Regions from separate parts of the Homo sapiens genome. Here all the other regions are linked to region 5. Evidence: promoter capture Hi-C in 16 types of primary human blood cells and fetal thymus (Javierre and others, 2016). All regions are on one chromosome and are shown on one strand. The core of a region is centred on a gene start or on the middle of the fragment in contact, and the rest is flanking DNA. Distances in the headings are between cores, read along the strand shown.

The links. Contacts are between HindIII fragments. The CHiCAGO score rates a contact against its expected background, and 5 or more counts as called.
Region 1: a fragment that was not itself captured here is called in contact with the fragment with the promoter of RNF182 in region 5 in 2 of 17 cell types (total B cells and naive B cells); the score reaches 7.3 in total B cells.
Region 2: a fragment that was not itself captured here is called in contact with the fragment with the promoter of RNF182 in region 5 in 1 of 17 cell types (total B cells); the score reaches 5.4 in total B cells.
Region 3: the fragment with the promoter of DTNBP1 here is called in contact with the fragment with the promoter of RNF182 in region 5 in 6 of 17 cell types (total B cells, naive B cells, activated CD4 T cells and 3 more); the score reaches 13.7 in total B cells.
Region 4: a fragment that was not itself captured here is called in contact with the fragment with the promoter of RNF182 in region 5 in 5 of 17 cell types (activated CD4 T cells, naive B cells, total B cells and 2 more); the score reaches 12.7 in activated CD4 T cells.
Region 6: a fragment that was not itself captured here is called in contact with the fragment with the promoter of RNF182 in region 5 in 1 of 17 cell types (naive B cells); the score reaches 6.6 in naive B cells.
Region 7: a fragment that was not itself captured here is called in contact with the fragment with the promoter of RNF182 in region 5 in 1 of 17 cell types (naive B cells); the score reaches 5.5 in naive B cells.

The regions. Positions count from the first base shown.
Region 1 is chr6:15,510,620-15,513,330 of GRCh38, reverse strand. JARID2 (jumonji and AT-rich interaction domain containing 2) reads right to left here. Exons shown (of 18, transcript NM_004973.4): 13 at 1,930-2,035; 14 at 941-1,123; 15 at 286-416; 16 at 1-92. Among named protein-coding and RNA genes, the nearest start is that of DTNBP1-AS1, 34 kb to the left of the region's middle. RefSeq lists an enhancer at 1-540. The HindIII fragment of the contact is 8,599 bases long and covers 1-2,711 here.
Region 2 is chr6:15,534,105-15,536,804 of GRCh38, reverse strand. All of the region lies in intron 7 of DTNBP1 (dystrobrevin binding protein 1), which reads left to right. All of the region lies in intron 2 of LOC105374947 (a long non-coding RNA gene), which reads right to left. Among named protein-coding and RNA genes, the nearest start is that of DTNBP1-AS1, 11 kb to the left of the region's middle. RefSeq lists a silencer at 1,561-1,761. The HindIII fragment of the contact is 1,391 bases long and covers 736-2,126 here.
Region 3 is chr6:15,661,549-15,664,277 of GRCh38, reverse strand. DTNBP1 (dystrobrevin binding protein 1) reads left to right here and starts at 1,250. Exons shown (of 10, transcript NM_032122.5): 1 at 1,250-1,464. The coding sequence starts at 1,409. RefSeq lists a silencer at 1,254-1,763 and an enhancer at 1,994-2,043. The HindIII fragment of the contact is 5,039 bases long and covers 1-2,729 here.
Region 4 is chr6:15,626,469-15,629,168 of GRCh38, reverse strand. It overlaps DTNBP1 (dystrobrevin binding protein 1), which reads left to right. Exons shown (of 10, transcript NM_032122.5): 5 at 1,694-1,826. Among named protein-coding and RNA genes, the nearest start is that of DTNBP1, 35 kb to the left of the region's middle. The HindIII fragment of the contact is 2,566 bases long and covers 40-2,605 here.
Region 5 is chr6:13,923,551-13,926,250 of GRCh38, reverse strand. RNF182 (ring finger protein 182) reads right to left here and starts at 1,299. Exons shown (of 3, transcript NM_152737.4): 1 at 1,228-1,299. RefSeq lists an enhancer at 1,904-2,404. The HindIII fragment of the contact is 2,801 bases long and covers 1-1,874 here.
Region 6 is chr6:15,605,780-15,608,479 of GRCh38, reverse strand. All of the region lies in intron 6 of DTNBP1 (dystrobrevin binding protein 1), which reads left to right. Among named protein-coding and RNA genes, the nearest start is that of DTNBP1, 56 kb to the left of the region's middle. The HindIII fragment of the contact is 2,746 bases long and covers 1-2,700 here.
Region 7 is chr6:15,644,593-15,647,292 of GRCh38, reverse strand. All of the region lies in intron 3 of DTNBP1 (dystrobrevin binding protein 1), which reads left to right. Among named protein-coding and RNA genes, the nearest start is that of DTNBP1, 17 kb to the left of the region's middle. The HindIII fragment of the contact is 4,613 bases long and covers 1-2,700 here.

The DNA of each region.
Region 1 (2,711 bases), core at 132-2,631, 1.6 Mb before region 5:
CCACCGTGCTGCTGCCATCGTGGCTGCCATAGCGTGCGGAGGAGTGGAGGCCAGCCTCGAACAGCTGCCTGCGCTGCCGCAGCTCTGTATCCCTGCCAGACACGGGAGACGGCCCGCACCTTTAGTGACGGCCTGCCATGCTCACCAGCAGAGGGGACACACGCACCCCACACCGGCCTCCCTGCAGACACACCCTCCTGTCAGGAAGTGAGGCCTGCTCGGGGGGTGAGCCCCCGAAGGGCAGCCGGGTCCAGCTCTCTGGCGTGGGCTCTGGGGGTCTGTTACCTGAGCTCATCCAGGAGGGCTGAGATGGTACTGAGAGTGGGACCGTTTTCTTTTTTTGCTTCTGCTTGTGCAATCTGGTAGAGTAACTTCTCCATGGAGAATGGCTTAGCTATATGGCGACGCTTCATTTCCTGAAAGAGGAGTCACATCCCTTTAGGGTGGATTTTCATTACTAGGCAGCTGTCAAGGTTCTTCTTGGTGGAGGGGGCAGGCAGGCTGTCTGAATTTCTAAATCTTGAATTGCATTTAGATTAAAAACTCTTCAAAACTTTGCCTCCCTGTGAGAAAGGCACCACATACCAGGAAAAGTCATAGCACTTCGCCGCTACCCAGAGGCAGCTGCCACTCCCTCACGATGGGTGGAGGTTCTCTGTCCATTCTAAGCAATTACCTTGAGCATCTTCAACAGTTTTCCAATACTGGAGGGGTCTGTCAGTAACGGTCTGATCAAAACTCTTTGTGATACAAACAAATCCCTAACAACTTTTCATTCCTAGAAGACCTTTCAACCACGTCTTAAGAATTTCAAAGACATATTCCAAAAGGAACTATTGACAAATAGACACGCACACGCAGGGATGCTTCTGTGTGCGCTCACGCACGGCACTCACAGGGATGCGGGGGCAGCAAGCGGGAGGAGGCCGGCTCTGCTCACCTTGGCGGTCTCAAAGCCCATACTTGTCCACTGGGTGGTAGCAAAGTGCACGGTTTCAGACACGCTGTACCCACAGCACACTTTGGACACAAAGGATCCCGGGAAGCAGACGACAAACTGGCCACTCTGCTGCACGGTCCTGTGCACCTTGATCCCCTCTTTGCACAGCACCTCCGGGGAGATCTGGGGAGACAGGGCCAGGCTGAGGCACCCCTCCCTGTGCGCAGGGACACCTGCAGTCTTCAGGTGACGTATGCGCACCCTAAGAGGCCTGCTCTCAAGGAGATAAGATTGTTTTATGTGGAAAATAAAAAGACGTCATTCATAACACAAGAAGGAGCTTCTAAACTGCACTGGTCCAAGAGTGATGACAGGTTCATGCACAGCTGAGGACATGATGACCACACAGGCCCCTCTGTCCCCACGTGGCAATGCCAGGGCTGGAAACAGGACAAGGTTACACAACCAGGAGGCTGCCGGGCTCATCTCCAGAGCCAAGTAGGCCACAGGCCCACAGGCTGGGCTTACAAAGGAGTCCCCCGTCCATCTCTTCTCTAAGATGGACAGGCGGGACCGGCAGGGTCAGCAGAGGCCAGAGAAGCTGGTCAGAACTCAGCTCAAAGCAGCACTTCCCAGGAACTCACCAGCCCCATGACTTCCTGAAAACAGGTGAAGAAGCCTTTGTGCTCATTCCTCTCACATGCCCAGAAGGTAGGAGCGGCGGGCACAAGAAATCCCAGGGCCCACAGCAGCCCACAACACAAACAAGCCCCAAAACAGATGCAAAGGCCGTGCAAAACCCCAGCGCCCTGTGCAATCTGATGGAAGGTCAGTTTGGCTTTTGTGTCAGAGGACCTTTCCCTTTGCACCCTGGGGATTTGTTTTGCTGTGTCCTCATTGCCTTTGAAAGGCGGGTTCATGGGAAACCATGTTCAAGTGCCTAGGAGGTCCTACAGCTCCTGCTGGAGGCGGTGGCTGAGTGGACGCACCATGACGTTGCTTTCCAGCATCTGCAGCCCTGGGGTGCCATTGGCTTGCAGCAGGGTGTGGACCACATCTTCCAGCTTGTTCTCCTCCTCAGCAGGAATGCAATACCTGGGTCATTGAGAGACACAAGAGACAAGCAGAGACTTGACAAGGGCCTCCTGCATGTACTGGGCCACCCCCGTCACCCTCAGGGACCCGAGCACACGAGAGGCTCTGCTCCACGCCGGCAGGGATGGCGCACTGGCCTGGCTGGGTGCCTGGTCACTGCTGGCTCCCATTTCCCATGGCAGCAGTGCCACGTCCACCTAGCACACAGCCAAACCACAGTGCATCCGCGTTGCGAGATGCTCATCTTTTATGGAGATCTGACCCACCTGGTGAGCCAAAAAGCCTTCAAACCACAAACAGATGTTCACAAACCCCTAGAAATCAGAACCAGACACACTGCGGCCTCCACGAGCCTCTTCTGAGGCTCCAGCACTGCACCCTCCTTCTGTTAACAGAGGCCACTGCAGGAGCAGCACCTGATAATGTCCTCACAAGGAATACGTGGCTCCCTCGGCCCTCCAGACAGGAACAGTAAACCCTGCCCTCTACAAATGCACAGAGAGTTGGGGAAGGAGCCAGGCTCATGCACATGTGCCACCTCAAGGCCAACTCCTTGGCAGATGCTGTGGTGAAGTAGGGGTCAGGGGATAGCTAGGGGCCCCCAGCTCTGCTCCCCACTGGAGAGTTTTACGTGTTAGGACCCAGCCTACCCGGCATCAGGCACATACAGCAAGAC
Region 2 (2,700 bases), core at 182-2,681, 1.6 Mb before region 5:
ATTCATGGTGCAAGCTGTCAGTGGATCTACCATTCTGGGCTCTGGAGGGCAGTGGCCCTCTTCTCACAGCTCCACTAGGCAGTGCCCCAGTGGGGACTCTGTGGAGGTGGTGGGGCAGCAACCCCACATTTACCATTTGCACTGCCCTAATAGAGATCTCCATGAGGGCTGTGTCCCTGCAGCAGACTTTTGCCTGGACATCCAGGCATTTCCATACATCCTGGGAGATCTAGGCCAAGGTTTCCAAACCTCAATTCTTGACTTCCGTGCACCCGCAGGCCTAACAGCATGTGGAAGCTGCCAAGGCTTGTGGCTTGCACCCTCTGAAGCAATAGCCCAAGCTGTACCTTGGCCCCTTTTAGCCACGGCTGTAGTTAGAGTGGCTGGAATGCAGGGTGCCATATCCCAAGGCTGCACAGAGCAGCTGGCCCCTGGGCCTGGCCCACAAAACTATTTTTCCTCCTAGGCCTCAGGGCCTGTGATGGGAGAGGCTGCTGCCAAAATCTCTGACATGCCCAGGAGACATTTTCCGCATTGTCTTGGCACTTAACATTCAACTCCTTATTACTTATGCAAATTTCTGCAGCTGGCTTGAATTTCTCCCCAGAAAATGGGTTTTTCTTTTCTGTCGCATTGTCAGGCTACAGATTTTCTAAACTTTTATGTTTTGCTTTTCTTGTAAACATAAGCTCCAAGTTCAAACTATCTCCTTGTGAACACATAAAACTGAAAGCTTTCAGAATAATCCAGGTCATGTCTTGAATGCTTTACTGCTTAGAAATTTCTTCCACCAGATACCCTTAATCATTGCTCTCAAGTTCAAGGTTCCACAGATCTCAAAGGCATGGCAAAATGCCACCAGTCTGCTAAAGCATAGCATGAGTGACCTTTACTCCAGTTCCCAATAAGTTCCTCATCTCCATCTGAGACCACCTCAGTCTGGACTTCATTGTTCACATCACTATCAGCATTTTGGTTGAAACCATTCCACAAGTCTCTAGGAGGTTCCAGAGTTTCCCATATCTTCCTGTCTTTTTCTGAGCCCTCCAGACTGTTCCAACCTCTACCCGTAACCCAGTTCCAAAGTCCCTTCCACATTTTCAAGTATCTTTATATCAATACCCCACTCTCTCCAGTACCAATTTGCTGCATTAGTCAATATTCACACTGCTATAAAGAAATACCTGAGGCTGGGTGAGGTTGCTCACACCTGTAGTTCCAGCACTTTGGGAGGCCGAGGCAGGCAGATCACTTGAGGTAGGAGTTTGAGACCAGCCTGACCAACATGGCAAAACTCCATCTCTACTAAAAATACAAAAAATTAGCTGGGCATAGTGGCGTGCTCCTGTAATCCCAGCTACTTGGGAGGCTGAGGCACAATAATTGCTTGAACCCAGGAGGCAGAGGTTGCAGTGAACTGAGATCGCACCACTGTCACTGCACTTCAGCTTGGGGAACAGAGTAAGACTCTGTCTCAAAAAAAATAGGTAATTTATAAACAAAGGAGGTTTAATTGACTCACAGCTCTGCATGGCTGGGGAGGCCTCAGGAAACTTATGATCATGGCAGAAGGGGAAGCAGGCTCCTTCACAAGGTGGAGAGTATGAGCATGTGAAGGAGGAACTGTCAGACACTTACACAACCATCAGATCTAGTGAGAACTACTCACTATCACGAGAACAGCATGGGGGAGACTGCCCCCATGACCCAATCACTTCCCTCCCCTGACATGTGAGAATTACAATTCGATATGAGATTTGGGTGGGAACACAGAGCTAAACCATATCACGTGCCTTGAGGAAAAGTTAAACTACTGGAAAGTGTTTATAGCTGGGAGATTTGGGGTTCTTGCTTGAATGACCAGGTGAAGGTTAATTATGTTAGTGTTCTTGCCTTGTATATTACTAAGGCTTACCTTGAAGGGTCACTGGTCCCTTAAATTATAAAATTTTTTCACATCCTTTCATATGTTTCATATCAATATTGGGTTAATATTTCTATCCCAAATTTTCAGATGAGAAGGTTAACTGATTAGGTTGTGTGGTCAGTAAACACTAAAAAGCCAAGATTAAGCACTTTGTAATACACCATGATGGCTACATACTTACTTTTTTTGTTCCCAAGCTTTTTTTTTTTTTTTTTTTTGAGACAGAGTCTCGCTCTGTCTCCCAGGCTGGAGTGCAGTGGCAAGATCTTGGCTCACTGCAACCTCTGCCTCCTGGGTTCAAGTGATTCTCCTGCCTCAGTCTCCTGAGTAGCTGGGAATACAGGTGACTGCCACCATGCCTGGCTAATTTTTGTATTTTTAGTAGAGATGGGGTTTTACGGTTTTACCATATTGGCCAGGCTGGTCTCGAACTCCTTACCTCAGGTGATCCGCCTGCCTCGGCCTCCCAAAGGGCTGGGATTATAGGCGTGAGCCACCGCGCCCGGCCCTGTTCCCAACTTTTTACTGTGGTAAAGTACACATAAAATTTACCATTTTATGTGTACATAGAATTCATAAGTGTCCAGCTGAGTGGTATTAAATATATTCATGCTGTGCATCCATCACTACCATCCATCTCCAGATGTCTTTCGTCTTGTAAAACTGAAAATCTGTACCCATTAACCACTAAGCTCCCACGCCCTCTCCCCAGCCCTGAGAGCACACTTCGTGTCTCCATCCATCTGACTGCTCTAGGTACCTCATATGAGTGG
Region 3 (2,729 bases), core at 1-2,500, 1.7 Mb before region 5:
GGCTGCTGTGTCAAGGATGGATTATAGGGGTGTGTATGGCAAAAGAGTAGAATCTGGAAGAACTGTCTGTGTTCCCATTGAAAGAGGATGGTGCCTTCGACCAGGATAAATATAGTGAAGATATAGAAAGAGAAGGAGGTTCCAGAAATACTTCAGGAGTAGAGTTGATTGGATTTGATGGGTTAATATGGGGAATGAGGAAAAGAGGGGAACCAGAGGTGATTTCAAGTGTCTTACCTTGAGCAAATTGGTGGATGGTGGTGTCATTTACTGAAACGGAAAATACAGGATGAGCAGATTAAAGGTGAACATGCAATGAATGAAATTTTCAATTTTGTGTATGTTGGTCTGAGATGCCTTTTGGATACATGTTGTATACATGCTTACATGAGTAAGCAACTGGTATGAATTGACGGAGAGGGAGGAAGGACAGGGCAGAAGATAGAGCTGTGGGAGTCATCGGTTCCTTGACAGAATTTACAGCGTGGTAATGGATAGACTCTATGCTATCCATCTATGGAACAACACATCTGGAGAAGAGAGAAGAGCTGGGGAGGCTGGACTGTAGCCTTGGGAGTGGCTATTAAAATAGGAGAAGGGGTGGAGCGGAAGGGAGAGAGGAACTATGGAGTGCTTAGCAAGAGAAGAAAGTGTTTTAAGGATGGGGATGATAAACTGCATTGAAAGCCACTGAGAGGTGGAGAAAAAATCAGGGCAGAGAAGTAATAAAAGGCATCAGCAACATGGAAGTCACTGGTGACTCGCGAAAGGCGATCACCTTTGGTGTGTAGGGCACAAAAGCCTGGGGGGGTAAAGAGAGAGTGGAAAGTAAGAATGTCGAGACAGTCGACTATTATTGCCATTTTATGAATGAAGAAACCGAGGCTCAATATTTGACTGTCTCATTCAAGGTGAAAGCCAGTGGGGTCAGATCCTGGACCTAGAATCCATGCAATGATTTGTGCACATCGCCTATTGAAGAGAGAGATCCAATTCTCTTCCAAAACGTAAAAGCCAACACTTCCCTCAAAGGAGGCTTCGAGTTAAATCATCCTTTCACGATGCCGCTTCCATTTTAAAGAAAAAAAAAAAAAAACGAGAAGGCCTGGTGCGGGATAGGAATGAGCCGAGGAGCTACTGGCCCTCTCGGTCGGGGGAAGACCCGCCCCTTTTCCGCAGCCCGAGCCCGGCGCAGTCCACTGCGGCTGCGCGAGCCTGGCGCGCGCGGGGCGGGAACGCGGAAGGGGCTGGGGTTGCGGCGCGGCGGCGAGGACCAGACCGGGGGCGGGGCCGGTAGTGGGAGTGCGGGGCGCGCGGTGACAGCGCGGGGTTGGCGGCGTGGGACCCAGGGGGCGACAGAGGCAGCAGCAGCCCGAGGCCTGAGGAGAGGAGACCGGCGGCGGCGGCAATGCTGGAGACCCTTCGCGAGCGGCTGCTGAGCGTGCAGCAGGATTTCACCTCCGGGTGGGTATACGGTGGGCGACGAAAAGGGACCTGAGGGGGCCGGGCCGCCGCCTGGGATGCCCCTGCCTCGCTCCCTTCCCCGCGCCACGGTCCAGGGTCCGTCCTGTCCCGCACCTCCCCGCCCCGCCCCGCCGAGGAAAGTAACGAACTTCCCGGCGTCCTCGCGTCGGGCGGCGCAAAGTAACTTAGGTCCCTGCGGGCCGCCTGTGACGCGCACCCCCCAGGACCGGGAGGCGCTCGGCGGCGCAGCGGAGCGCCCGGGGGGGGTGTGGGACCCTGCGGTCCTTTCCCGGCAGCATCAGCTGGGCCCTGGAGGGAAGTCATGTGAGAAGCCAGCGCGCCTCACCGCTTCCGCCCCCGCGGCACAGTGGCCTGCGCCCCTCGGCCCAGCAGACACCTGCTCGTGCGCACCTGGAGCTGGGCCAGCCACCCTCCCCGAGTCGGATCGCACCGCGCAGCAGCCTGCACCCTCCGGCCACAGCCTTCCGCGCCGCGTCTCGGCTTTCACGCCCGGCTCGCCGGCCTAACCCTTGGCAAGGCTGGCCGCCCCTCCCCGTTGCGTCCTTTCTCTACCTTTGCCGTGAGCTCAGCGCCTCGGCGAAGGAACTCCTAAGCAGGAGAAGCGACAGAACTTTAGGAATGCTTTTAATACCCAGCGGTTCCCAAACTTTGCTTAGAATCACCTGGGAACCTTTCAGAGTTCTGATGCCCAGGTCTCACCCCCTACCTGTTGACCAGAGTGCCTGGAGACGGCGTTTTAAAGATCCCCAGGGGATTCCAGTGGGCACCAACGCCTGGGAACCACAGGCCGAGACTCTGGCGCCAGATTGCCTAGGCATCCTGGCTCGACCACTAAATCAAACGTAGTTACTCAGCTGCCTTGCCTCAATGTACTGTTTCCGCTACCGTAAAATGGGGATAATGATGGTACTTAAAAGGTTATTACAAGGATTAATGAATTAATGTGTAAAACACGAAGCAAGCATCATGTCAGTATTGTTACTTAGTGCTTAATTTTAATTTTTTCATTCCTTTAAAGTGAAAAAGATCTGTCTTTGAAAAGGATCTTTCAACTTTAGCTTACAAATCCTGTTGGAGGATGCACTGAATGTGAGAACATTTCCACTCATACTGTTTTAAATTTCTCCCCCCCACCCCCCTTTTTTTTGAGATGGAGTCTTGCTCTGTCACCCAGACTGGAGTGCAGTGGCGTGATCTCGGCTCACTGCAACCGCCGCCTCCCGGATTCAAGCGATTCTCCTGGC
Region 4 (2,700 bases), core at 73-2,572, 1.7 Mb before region 5:
ATAAATGAATTTTGTGAACATAGATCCTTGTTTCAAGCTTTGGTTTCCTTACTGCATTTTAGCTGTTTTTTCAGTATGTTTTAAGCTACTTTTAAAGATTTTTTTTAAAGACCAGTTGGCAACAGACATTTTTAAATACACAAAAATAATGAGAAATGCGGTTTGCGTGAAACTTGATGTGGCCTCCCAGCTCAGTTGAGGCTTGAATGTGAGAGATTATGTGTTTATCCCTCCAGCGTGGGCTGAGAAACCACAGGGAGATGTGTCATAGCTTAGTTCTTTATTTCAAATGAGAATTCCTACTATAGTGAAATGTACGAACAAAAACAATCTAGTACTACATACAAATAATTTTGTATCTTTGATATATTCATTCCTCCAAAGTTCTTTCTTAATTTATTAAGTGGAACTTAGTAAGAATCAGTTGTATTCAGATTCTAACTCTTAAAGAGCCTTAATCCTGGCCGGGCACAGTGGCTCATGCCTGTAATCCTAACACTTTGGGAGGCCAAGATGGGTGGATTGCTTGAGGCCAGGAGTTCAAAACCAGCCTGGCCAACTTGGTGAAACCCTGTCTCTACTAAAAATACAAAAAATTAGCCGGGTGTGGTGGTAGGTGCCTGTAGTCCCAACTACTGGGGAGTCTGAGGCAGGAGAATCGCATGAACCTGGGAGGCGGAGGTTGCAGTGAGCCAAGATAGCACCACTGCACTCCAGCCTGGGCAACAAGAGCGAAACTTCGTCTCAAAAAAAAAAAAAAAAAAAAAAAAGAACCTTAATCTTGAGATGTACAAATTGTCTGTTTTGAATACTCAAATTCATTTTCTTCTGTCATATAATGGGTTTTGTTACCTTTATTTTTTATCGTACAGATTATGGAGTTTTTTCCACAGTTCTTGCTTATTCATGTTGATATTTTCAAAAGATCACCTCTTCTTGCTCCTTCTAAGTCTTTCTAGGCCCTTGTCCCTCCCACTATGTTAAGACCAAAACAGAATTGTCTGGGAGAAACTAATGTCTGTCATTTTCTTTATAGTCTTTAGCAAAAGAAGTTAGAATTATCTTAGGCTATTCTAGAATTTCACAACCTTGCTATTAGGAACCCTTTACATCTGCTGAATTCCTCATTAACTTAAATCATTTCCTCTTTTTCTGGAATTCTGGAATTGGCCAGTTTCCTCAAAATTCCTTTATATACTTTATGCAATAAGTATTCCTGTTTAAATGTAAATTGAAACATGGTATATTCTAAATGTATTAGGGAACTTTTCTTTGAAGACTTCCTTTCGTAAAGCCAATAATTACCCGTTAATTATGTTTTATGTTTGTTTTCTTTTTGGTTGTTAGTGGTAGTTTTTTGTTTTTGTTTTTTTTTTTTCTAGATTTAGCTTTTCAAATACATGGTCTGCTTAAAACAGGGTATACTTAGAAGTGACTTCTGAAGTCATTTTTAAACTTTCTCTTCTGTGGGTTAAGATGCACTGATACAAGCAGTAATTGGAGGTTTCCTGCACTGAATATTAAGTTGTTTCTTTTCTAAAAATGAAAACAACTTCAGTCTCTTTTAGAATGTACCGTAATCTCTACTGAGTAGAGGGGTTGTTAAAGATAACATTAAATCTCATTACGTTAACTGTACTTTCTTTGTGCCTAAAACCTGGTTTCACTTTACCCCCCTTCTTGTGTGCTGCAGCTGGTGGATAGCGAGGTGGTCATGCTTTCTGCGCACTGGGAGAAGAAAAAGACAAGCCTCGTGGAGCTGCAAGAGCAGCTCCAGCAGCTCCCAGCTTTAATCGCAGACTTAGAATCCATGACAGCAAATCTGAGTAAGTCCAATGTTTTCATTGTACATTACTTTTAGGAATGAAAACAACTTGGGCAGGGTTTGGTGTAATTTCAGAGCTTTTCAGGAACACATGAAATTCTGGGTTAACAGGATTTTTTGGAAAATCATGATTTCATATTTTGATTAGTTGAGGATTCCACAGAAAATGATGTAAAGTGTAGAAATTAGTTCTGTTTCTGCCTCAGGTCAGCTCCGGACACATAATTATAATTATGTTGATTCTTAAAGTGACTCAGGTTGTCTTTGTTGACATTTGGTCTCTGTTTAAAAGCATACATATAGAAAATGGATTAGGTGACTTTGTCCTTACTGTAGAATGTATTCCAGAAATTGTTGCTTTTAAAATTTAGATATGCTAGAACTTCATGTCTTGTAGTGTATTTTTTTCTCTTCAAACGGATTGGAGATCAAACAAACCTGGTTAAATGAGGGTACTTGTGCTGGGTGTGGTGGCACGTGCCTGCAGTTGCAGCTATTCTGGAGACTGAGGCAGGAGGAGTGCTTGAGCCCAGGAGTTTGAATCCAGCCTGGGCAACATAGTGAGACCTTGTCTCAAACAACAACAACAACAAAGTAAATTAGGGTACCTGTTTGGCTAAATTTATACTCTGTGGAAATTTATTTTTTTGTCGTTGTTCATTTGGATGGATTATGTTGGTATTCTTTTTTTCTTGGGTTTATATTCAGAAAATTATCTTTTATGTTTGATGATGCCACATCTAAGGATAATATTGCAGCTTACTATTTCCTAATCAAGCTTAAGATCTTAGTAAAGTAGGAGGTAGGAGCTGTCTGTATGAGCTAATAACCTGTTTTAGTCTTTTAGGTGGGAAGCTAAAGATACCCTATTATCT
Region 5 (2,700 bases), core at 50-2,549:
TTACTCTCTAGCAAAAATATAATTTCTTGCATTCCATATAGTTCTTTAAATGACCTATTCCAACTTATACATTATTTTACTAAGTTGGATATACAATTTTATATGTTAGATTATTTTCCAGTTATCAATATGACATCTCATATTGTTTAAATATGATTTAAAACAAATCTTATTAACATATATACAATTTCCTTCTGAATTGATCAACTGTATTTCTGAAAATGTATCTGTTTTCTTTCATATTACTACATGTAAGATGATGTCTAAGTACCAAAAAAAAAAGTCTTCACAGTCACAATTTAAATCTGTGCTTCGCGTCTGCAACAAACTATCACGAAATGATTGCAAGGGTTGGGGCCACTGAGAAAGGTACCTATAACCTATCCAGTGCCCCAGTGGCAACCGCATCGTGGTCCTCATCATCCCACTCATAAACACCGATGCAAACACCGCCCAGCTACCTGCCTCCAGAGGTGCTTTGGATTGCCTCCCTACACATAAAAACAAAAGGCACTTTCCAGTTCCTTACAGCATGAACACAATACCTTCTAGAAACAAAAGCAATGACCTCGGTGCCAAGTATCTCCTTGACAAAGTATCGGTACTGCTCTACATTCTGGTCTTGCTAGTCGGGGAAAGCCGGGCTACCCTTACCATCCAGTTATAGGTGCAACTGCACCTTCCAAAGAAAAAAAGGTCTTTCGATTCAATATCCAAACGAACTTCAGAAGCCTCCTCAAAATGCTTCAGCCACAGGCATAAAAATGGGCTCACTTTTCAGAGATTCGTAAAAATCTTTCGCTTGTCCCTCTTACTACCCTCCCAACCCCTCCTCAAAGAGAATGCCATGAAACATGAAAGTCCAAAGGTAAATACTTTCATACCTTTTTTTCCCCCAAAAGCCTCGATGGCACGCCAAGAAGGAAAATAACAACAACAACAGAGGGGCAGCTCCCTGAGCAGGTGCAGCCCGCGCGGGCGCTCCGCAGCCGCCCTCCGCCGCACAGCCCCTCAAGTTGGTGCCAGGACGGCGGCCCCCGTGGTGCCCGGAGGGAGACTCCGCGCGCGGGCCCCGGCGCCGCTCGGCCCGAAGTTTGCCGCCCCCTCTCCTCGGCGCGCTTGGGCGGCCCGGCGCCGTCCAGGACTGCGGGGCTGGCTGCTGCCCCAGCGTTGGGGAGGCCCGGCGTCCCGCCGACCCCTCCCCGGCCGCGGGCGCGATCGCCTTACCTGGCCGGCGGCGGCCCAGGGCCCGGGAGCCGCTCCGGCTGCGGCGGCGCCTGGGAGGGGAGGGAGGTTCCCGTGGAGGAGGAGCTCGCGCGAGGAGCTAGCGGGCTGGCGGGCGGGCGGCTTTGTCTCTACGGCGCTGAGCCGCCGACCCTGCGTCACCATGGCAACCGCCGGGGCCCCCCCGGCCCTTCCCCTCAGCAGTCCGGGTATTCGGAGAGGACAAGGACCCCCGATGGGCCGCCACCACCACAAACACGCCCCTCTCTCAGTCTCCCTCACAAACCGCCTGTTTCTCCCCAGCGAGAGGGGAAGGCTAAAGCGGAGCGAGCCCAGGGCCAAGTGGTATTCGCATCCTAGTAGGCACTCCTTTGCTTCCCCACACTGGACATTCCAACTCCCGTCGCACCACCATCCCCCCCACAGACACCCTCCACCACTACCACCACCACACCTTTCTCCTGTGGAGCTGTACCCTCAAAATGGAAATTCACTTAAGGGAGGAGAAAGAGCAATGCAAAGTGATAAAGTGTTGAGCAACTGGTACTCGGTTCTCCTGTTGCAACTGCCGCAGCATGCACGGAGCTGCCAAGGGACGCCGTGCCGCCTCCTCCCTCTCCCCCTCCTCCTCCTCTCTCTTTTAGCAAGCTTTGCCTCTGCTGGATGTGGTCTCACTCCACCCAACCCGTGTATCTGTCTTGTTGAGGGCTCCCGTAGGAGAGAGGGGAAAGGGGGCTTTATCTCTGATGTAAACACTGGATACACTTGTAACCTCAGAAGCTGAAACACAACTTTCAGGCTGCAGTATGGATCTCAGCTGCTGCCACACTGCGCAGCTACTGGCTGTGACCGCTAAGCATCTACCATGAGCCCTGAGTGACTCTGTGCCAAGGACTGGTCACGTACTGCAGGCCATGGCACTCAGGAGCAGAGAAAAGAAAGCTAACTTTTTCCTCTCCTGAGGAAATTCTTAGAGAGGGAGAGAAAAGTACCAGCAGACCCTTGGTCATGCTTCCTCTAAAGGACGAACTAGAGGGCAGCCTCCATGGGGGGAGTGAGTCATCCCTCCATACTGTTTTCTTGAAAGATCCGTTGCTGAATCCAAAAGCTACAGTGTCTTTCTTCAAACCCTGGGGAACATGACATTTATTTTTTGGCATTTGTGAATCACCAAAGGAATGTCAATGATTTATAATAAAATCCACGGTAGCTGATGTTTTCTGGGTTTACTACTTGAGAAGCCACAAAGCAGAACAATGTTATTGCCATTTGAAGGTACACCTATATTAACTAATGAAAAGATAAGATCTATTTCATGGTGGAAAAGGAAAACAGTTTGTTCCTCGGAGAGACTGGCCACTTTCTTGTAATGGGAATATTCTGAATGAAGTCAATAATATTCCAGATGAAGTCAAAAGACAAGGTCTTTTTGGCAGGCCATTAAGCATTTGGCAATACCTGCCAGAATTCAAAATG
Region 6 (2,700 bases), core at 99-2,598, 1.7 Mb before region 5:
ATTGGGACAGGAAGGCCTTCTGGAGAATTCTAAGTAGTGTTTCCAAGGGGGAAAAAATGAAGCTAATGCATTGTCTTATCGGCGTGGCAATATTGAGAGGAGCTTTATGACTCCTTTATTTATTTATTTATTTATTTATAACTTGAATTATTAAACTCTGGTGGAGGGTTTAATGAGGAATTAGAGATAAATGTGTGTGTTTTTTTTTAAACCAAGCAAACAACAACAAGGTAGATATTAACACTGAGGGGAAACAGTTTTTAAAAAAGAGAAATAATATGCTACATGGCTCAGTCACAAACAGTATTTATGTGATATTGGAATAATTAAAAGCAGAATTGTGATAAAACTTGCTGGGGAGATGGGGGAGAAAAAGCATATTTGTGTTGAGGGGAATTAGAGGTGTAAAATAGCTAATCCTCATCTTCTCCAGCAGGAAATCAAGAAGTAATATTTAAAATTGAAAAAAGAATAAATATTAATATTTGCATATTATTTAGAAATAACAGAGGTAAATGCCAGGAAAAATAACTGAAAGAATTGAACATGGCTGCTTGTGAAAAACAGGGCAGAAAGGTGGAGAGAGCTGGGGCAGGGACTACTTGTCTTCACTATAAATACATCTCCTGGGTGCTCTTTGACTTCAGGAATGGGTATGTACTATCAACATGCAAAAATTGAATTAAACATTTTTTAATTAATTCCATATAACATTCCCTGAATTCTTCTGCATGGAATACTAGACTGAAAAGGTTGCCATTGATAAAACAGTATGTGATCAGATAAGCTCCAGAAACACTTTGCATTTGCCCACGGAGCTTTGCAGTGTGCATCAGCGTGCTAAAGGTTCTGAGAATTCCTGTGGTAAAGAAATGTTTTGCTGGGCACGGTGGCTCACACCTATAATCCCAGGACTTTGGGAGGCTGAGGCGGGCAGATCATGTGAGGTCAGGAGTTTGAGACCAGCCTGGCCAACATGGTGAAACCCCATCTCTACTAAAAATATAAAAATTAGCTGGGCATGGTGTTGCATGCCTATAATCCCAGCTACTTGGGAGGCTGAGGCAGGAGAATCCCTTGAACTCCGGAGGTGGAGGTTGCAGTGAGCCAAGATCGTGCCACTGCACTCCAGTCTGGGCAACAGAGTGAGACTCTGTCTCAAAAAAACAAAGAAATATTTTGGCCGGGCACAGTGGCTCATGCCTGTAATCCCAGCCGAAAGCGGCAGATCACTTGAAGTCAGGAGTTCGAGACCAGCCGGGCCAACATGGTGAAACCCTGTCTCCACTAAAAATACAAAAATTAGCTGGATGTGGTAGTGGGTGCCTGTAATCCCAGACACTCAAGAGGCTAAGGCAGGAGAATTGCTTGAACCCAGGACCGGGAGGTTGCAGTGAGCTGAGCTCACACCACTGCACTCCAGCCTGGGTTACAGAGTGAGACTCTGTCTCAAAAAAAAAAAAAAAAAATTTTTTTTTGACTCAGCATTTCACAACTTACTTGCTCACAGAATCAATTTGCATGTAACACATATTAACATTCTGTGACTTAGTATTCTACATAACACCATTTGAGAAATTTTCAAATACTGCCAGTGAAAAACTTTTAATTTTCTGGTTCATAAGAGATGAGTCGCTTAAAAATAAACCTTCTTCCTTTTTAACAAGATGCTATGCAAACTACACTAATGACTTTTCTTACTCTGAAGAAAACGATAATATGTGATAGAAAAAGTTGGATATGTGATATGCTTATGTGCATGCATTTTTTTAACAATGTTTGCACACCCTGTAGCTTTCCCAAAAATCCGGGCCAGAACACTGGATGAAGGTGGGGAGAGTGGGAGAATGAAAGATAATTTTTCACACTCCTCCAGTGCTAATAGGCTCTGCAATAGGCTCCTATGGCTTTTCTCATTCAGCTCCCACCAGAGCCTGTAGTGTGGGCAGGGCAGCAATTTTTGGAGTTGAGAAGGAGATTGAGTTGCATTAAGTCATCAGACTATTTAGGGGCCAGCATCAGAACCAGAGTCTTCAGTCCAAGGCTCCCACCACACCACCACACCAACCCAAATGTGTCTTCTTTTTTGATGTTAAGTTGGAACAAACTGATTGAGTCCCAGATGTTTATACCAGTGCATCTGTAGTTTCAAATGGATATATGATATTTTGTCATTCATTTGACGGACGTTCCCAGCAGAGAGAATACATTCCTGCCCCTACAAAAACAGGACTGTGACCCATTATAAAATAAATAAACACAAAATAAAATAAACGTGACAGTGGCTTCCTAGTCAGGGGATTCTCCCAGTGGGTAGGGAAATATACAGCCTAGGGATGGTTCTGATAGCTCTTACCTACCCTTGAGAAACATTTGAATAGACGGTTTAATCCACTTCATTTGTGCAGTAAAGTAGGACATCTCTCTTTAGCTAGTTATCTGAGAAAAGTGCCATCTAAGACACTTGTGTGGTTGTACGGGGAAAATACCCATAAATTGCTTTTCTAAATATTTTTCTGCATGTAAAATGATATTACTGTTACCAGTGCCTTTGTAGACTGGAACGGACATTGCCTTGATAAACAACAAAACATTGTGTAGTGGCTAGAATATGGCTATAGGCAAAGACAGGTACTCAAACCAGTAGCTAAGTTGTCAGATAGTTCAGAAGATGAGTGCTACAGCCATACGAGTCTAATT
Region 7 (2,700 bases), core at 49-2,548, 1.7 Mb before region 5:
ATTTGGTTTTAATTTGCATTGCTCTGATGATTAGTGATGCTGAGCATTTTTTTCATCTTTGTTGGCTTCTTATATGTCTTCATTTGAGAAGAGTCTATTCATATCCTTTGCTCACTTTTTAATGGGGTTGTTTTTTCTTGTTCATTTGTTTAAGTTCCTTATAGATTCTGGATATTAGTCTTTTGATGGATGCATAGTTTGCAAAAACTTTCTCTCATTCTGTAGGTTGTCTGTTTATTGTGTTGTTTCTTTTGCTACGCAGAAGCTCTTTAGTTTAAGTCCCATTTGTCATTTTTTGTCACAATTGTTTTTGATGTCTTAGTCATAAATTATTTGCTTAGGCCAGTGCCCAAAAGGGTTTTTTTCTAGGTTTTCTTCTAGGGTTTTTATAGTTTGAGGTCTTACATGTAAGTCTTTAATCTTGAGCTAATTTTTGTATATGGTAAGAGGTAGGGGTCCAGTTTTGTTCATCCATAAATGGCTAGCCAGTTTTCCTCGCACCATTTATTGAATAGGGTGTCCTTTCCCCATTGTTTATTTTTGTTGACGTTGCTGAAGATCAGTTAGTTGTAGCTGTGTGACTTTATTTCTGGATTCTCTATCCTGTTCCATTGATCTGTGTGTCTATTTTTATACTAGTACTATGATGTTTTGGTTACTGTAGCCTTGTAGTATGGTTTGAAGTCAGGTAATGTGATGCTTCTAGATTTGTTCTTTTTGCTTTGGATTGCTTTGGCTATTCAGGCTCTTTTTTTGATTCCATATGAATTTTAGATTTTTTTTTTCTGATTTTGGGGAAAATGGCATTGGTAATTTGATGGGAATTGCACTGAATCTGTAGATTGCTTTGGGCAATGTGGTTATTTTAATGTTATTGATTCTTCTAATCCATGAGCATGGAATGTTTTTCCATTCGTGTCATCTATGATTTCTTTCATCAGTGTTTTACAGTTCTCTTTGTAGAGATCTTTCACTTCCTTGGTTATATATACTAGGTATTGTATATGTGTGTGTGTGTGTGTGTGTGTGTGTGTCTATTGTAAATGAGATTGAGTTCTTGATTTGGTTCTCAGATTGAATGTTGTTGGTGTATAAAAATGCTGCAGATTTTATTTTTATTTATTTTTTAATTTTTATTTTTTAGTTTCTCAAATGAGTTGATGCTGTGGAGTTTTGTACATTGCTTTTGTATGTTGAAAAGTTACTGAAGTTGTTTATCAGGTCTATGAGTCTTTTGGAGGATTCTTTAGGGTTTTCTGGGTATGTAATCATGTTGTCAGCAAACAGAGATAATTAATTTGTCTTCATCTTTTCCTATTTGGGTACCTTATATTTCTTTCTCATGCTTGATTGCTCCAGCTAGGACTTCCAGTATTATGTTGAATAGGAGTGGTGAGAGTGGACATCCTTGTCTTGTTCCAGTTCTTAGGGAGAATGCTTTCAACTATTGCCCATTCAGTATTGTGTTGACTGTGGGTTTGTCATATATGGCTCTTAGTATTTTCAGGTATGTTCCTTTGATGCCTTGTTTGTTGAGGATTTTCGTTATGAAGGGATATTGAATTTTATCGAATGCCTTTTCTGTGTCTTTTGAGAAGATTATGTTATTTTTGCTTTTAACTCTGTTTATGTGGTAAATCACATTCATTGATTTGTGTTTGTTGAACCGTCCTTGCATCCAAGGGTTAAACCCACTTGATCATGGTGAACTATCTCTTTGATGTGCTGTTGGATTTAGTTTGATAGCATTTTGTTGAGGATTTTTGTGTCTATGTTTATCAGTAATGTTGACCTGTAGTTTTCTTTTTTTGTTATGTCATTGCTAGGTTTTGGAATCAGGATAATACTAGTTGCATAGAATGAGGTGAAGGAGAAATCTCCTCTCTTCAATTTTTTGGAATAGTTTCAGTAAGATTGGTACCAGTTCTTTGTACATCTGGTGGAATTTAGCTGTAAATCCATCTGGTCTAGGGCTTTTTTTGGTTGGTAGATTTTTTTTATTATTATTATTACTGATTGAATTTCGTAACTTGTTATTGGTCTGTTCAGAATTTCAATTTCTTTCTGGTTCAGTCTGGAAGGTGATGTGTTTCTAGGAATTAATCCATTTCCTCTAGGTCTTCTAATTTGTGCACATAGAGATGTTCTTAGTAGTCTCTGATGATCTTTTGTCTTTCTGTGGTGTCAGTTATGATGTCACTTTTGTCATTTCTGATAGTGCTTATTTGAATCTCTTTTCTTTTTTTCTTGGTTAATCTAGCCAGCAGTCTGTCAATCTTGTTTATCTTTTCAAATATCTAACTTTTTGTGTTGTTGATACTTTGTATGGTTTTTTTTTGGTCTCAATTTCATTTAGTTCTGCTCTGATCATAATTATTTCTTCTGTTAGCTTTGGGTTTAGTTTGTTCTTGCCTTTCTAGTTCTTAAAAGTGTGGTGTTAAGTTGTTAATTTGAGATCTTTGTGTGTTTTGGTGTAGTCATGGAGCACTGTAAATTTTCTTCTTAATACTGCTTTTTCTGTATCTCAGAGGTTTTGGTATGTTGTGTCTTTATTTTCATTTGATTCAATTAATTTTTTTTTATCTCTGCCTTAATTTCATTGTTTACCCAAAAGTCATTCAGGAGCAGGTTGTTTAGTTTCCATATACTTGTGTGATTCTTAGGGTTCCTCTTGGTATTTATTTTGATTTTATTCCACTG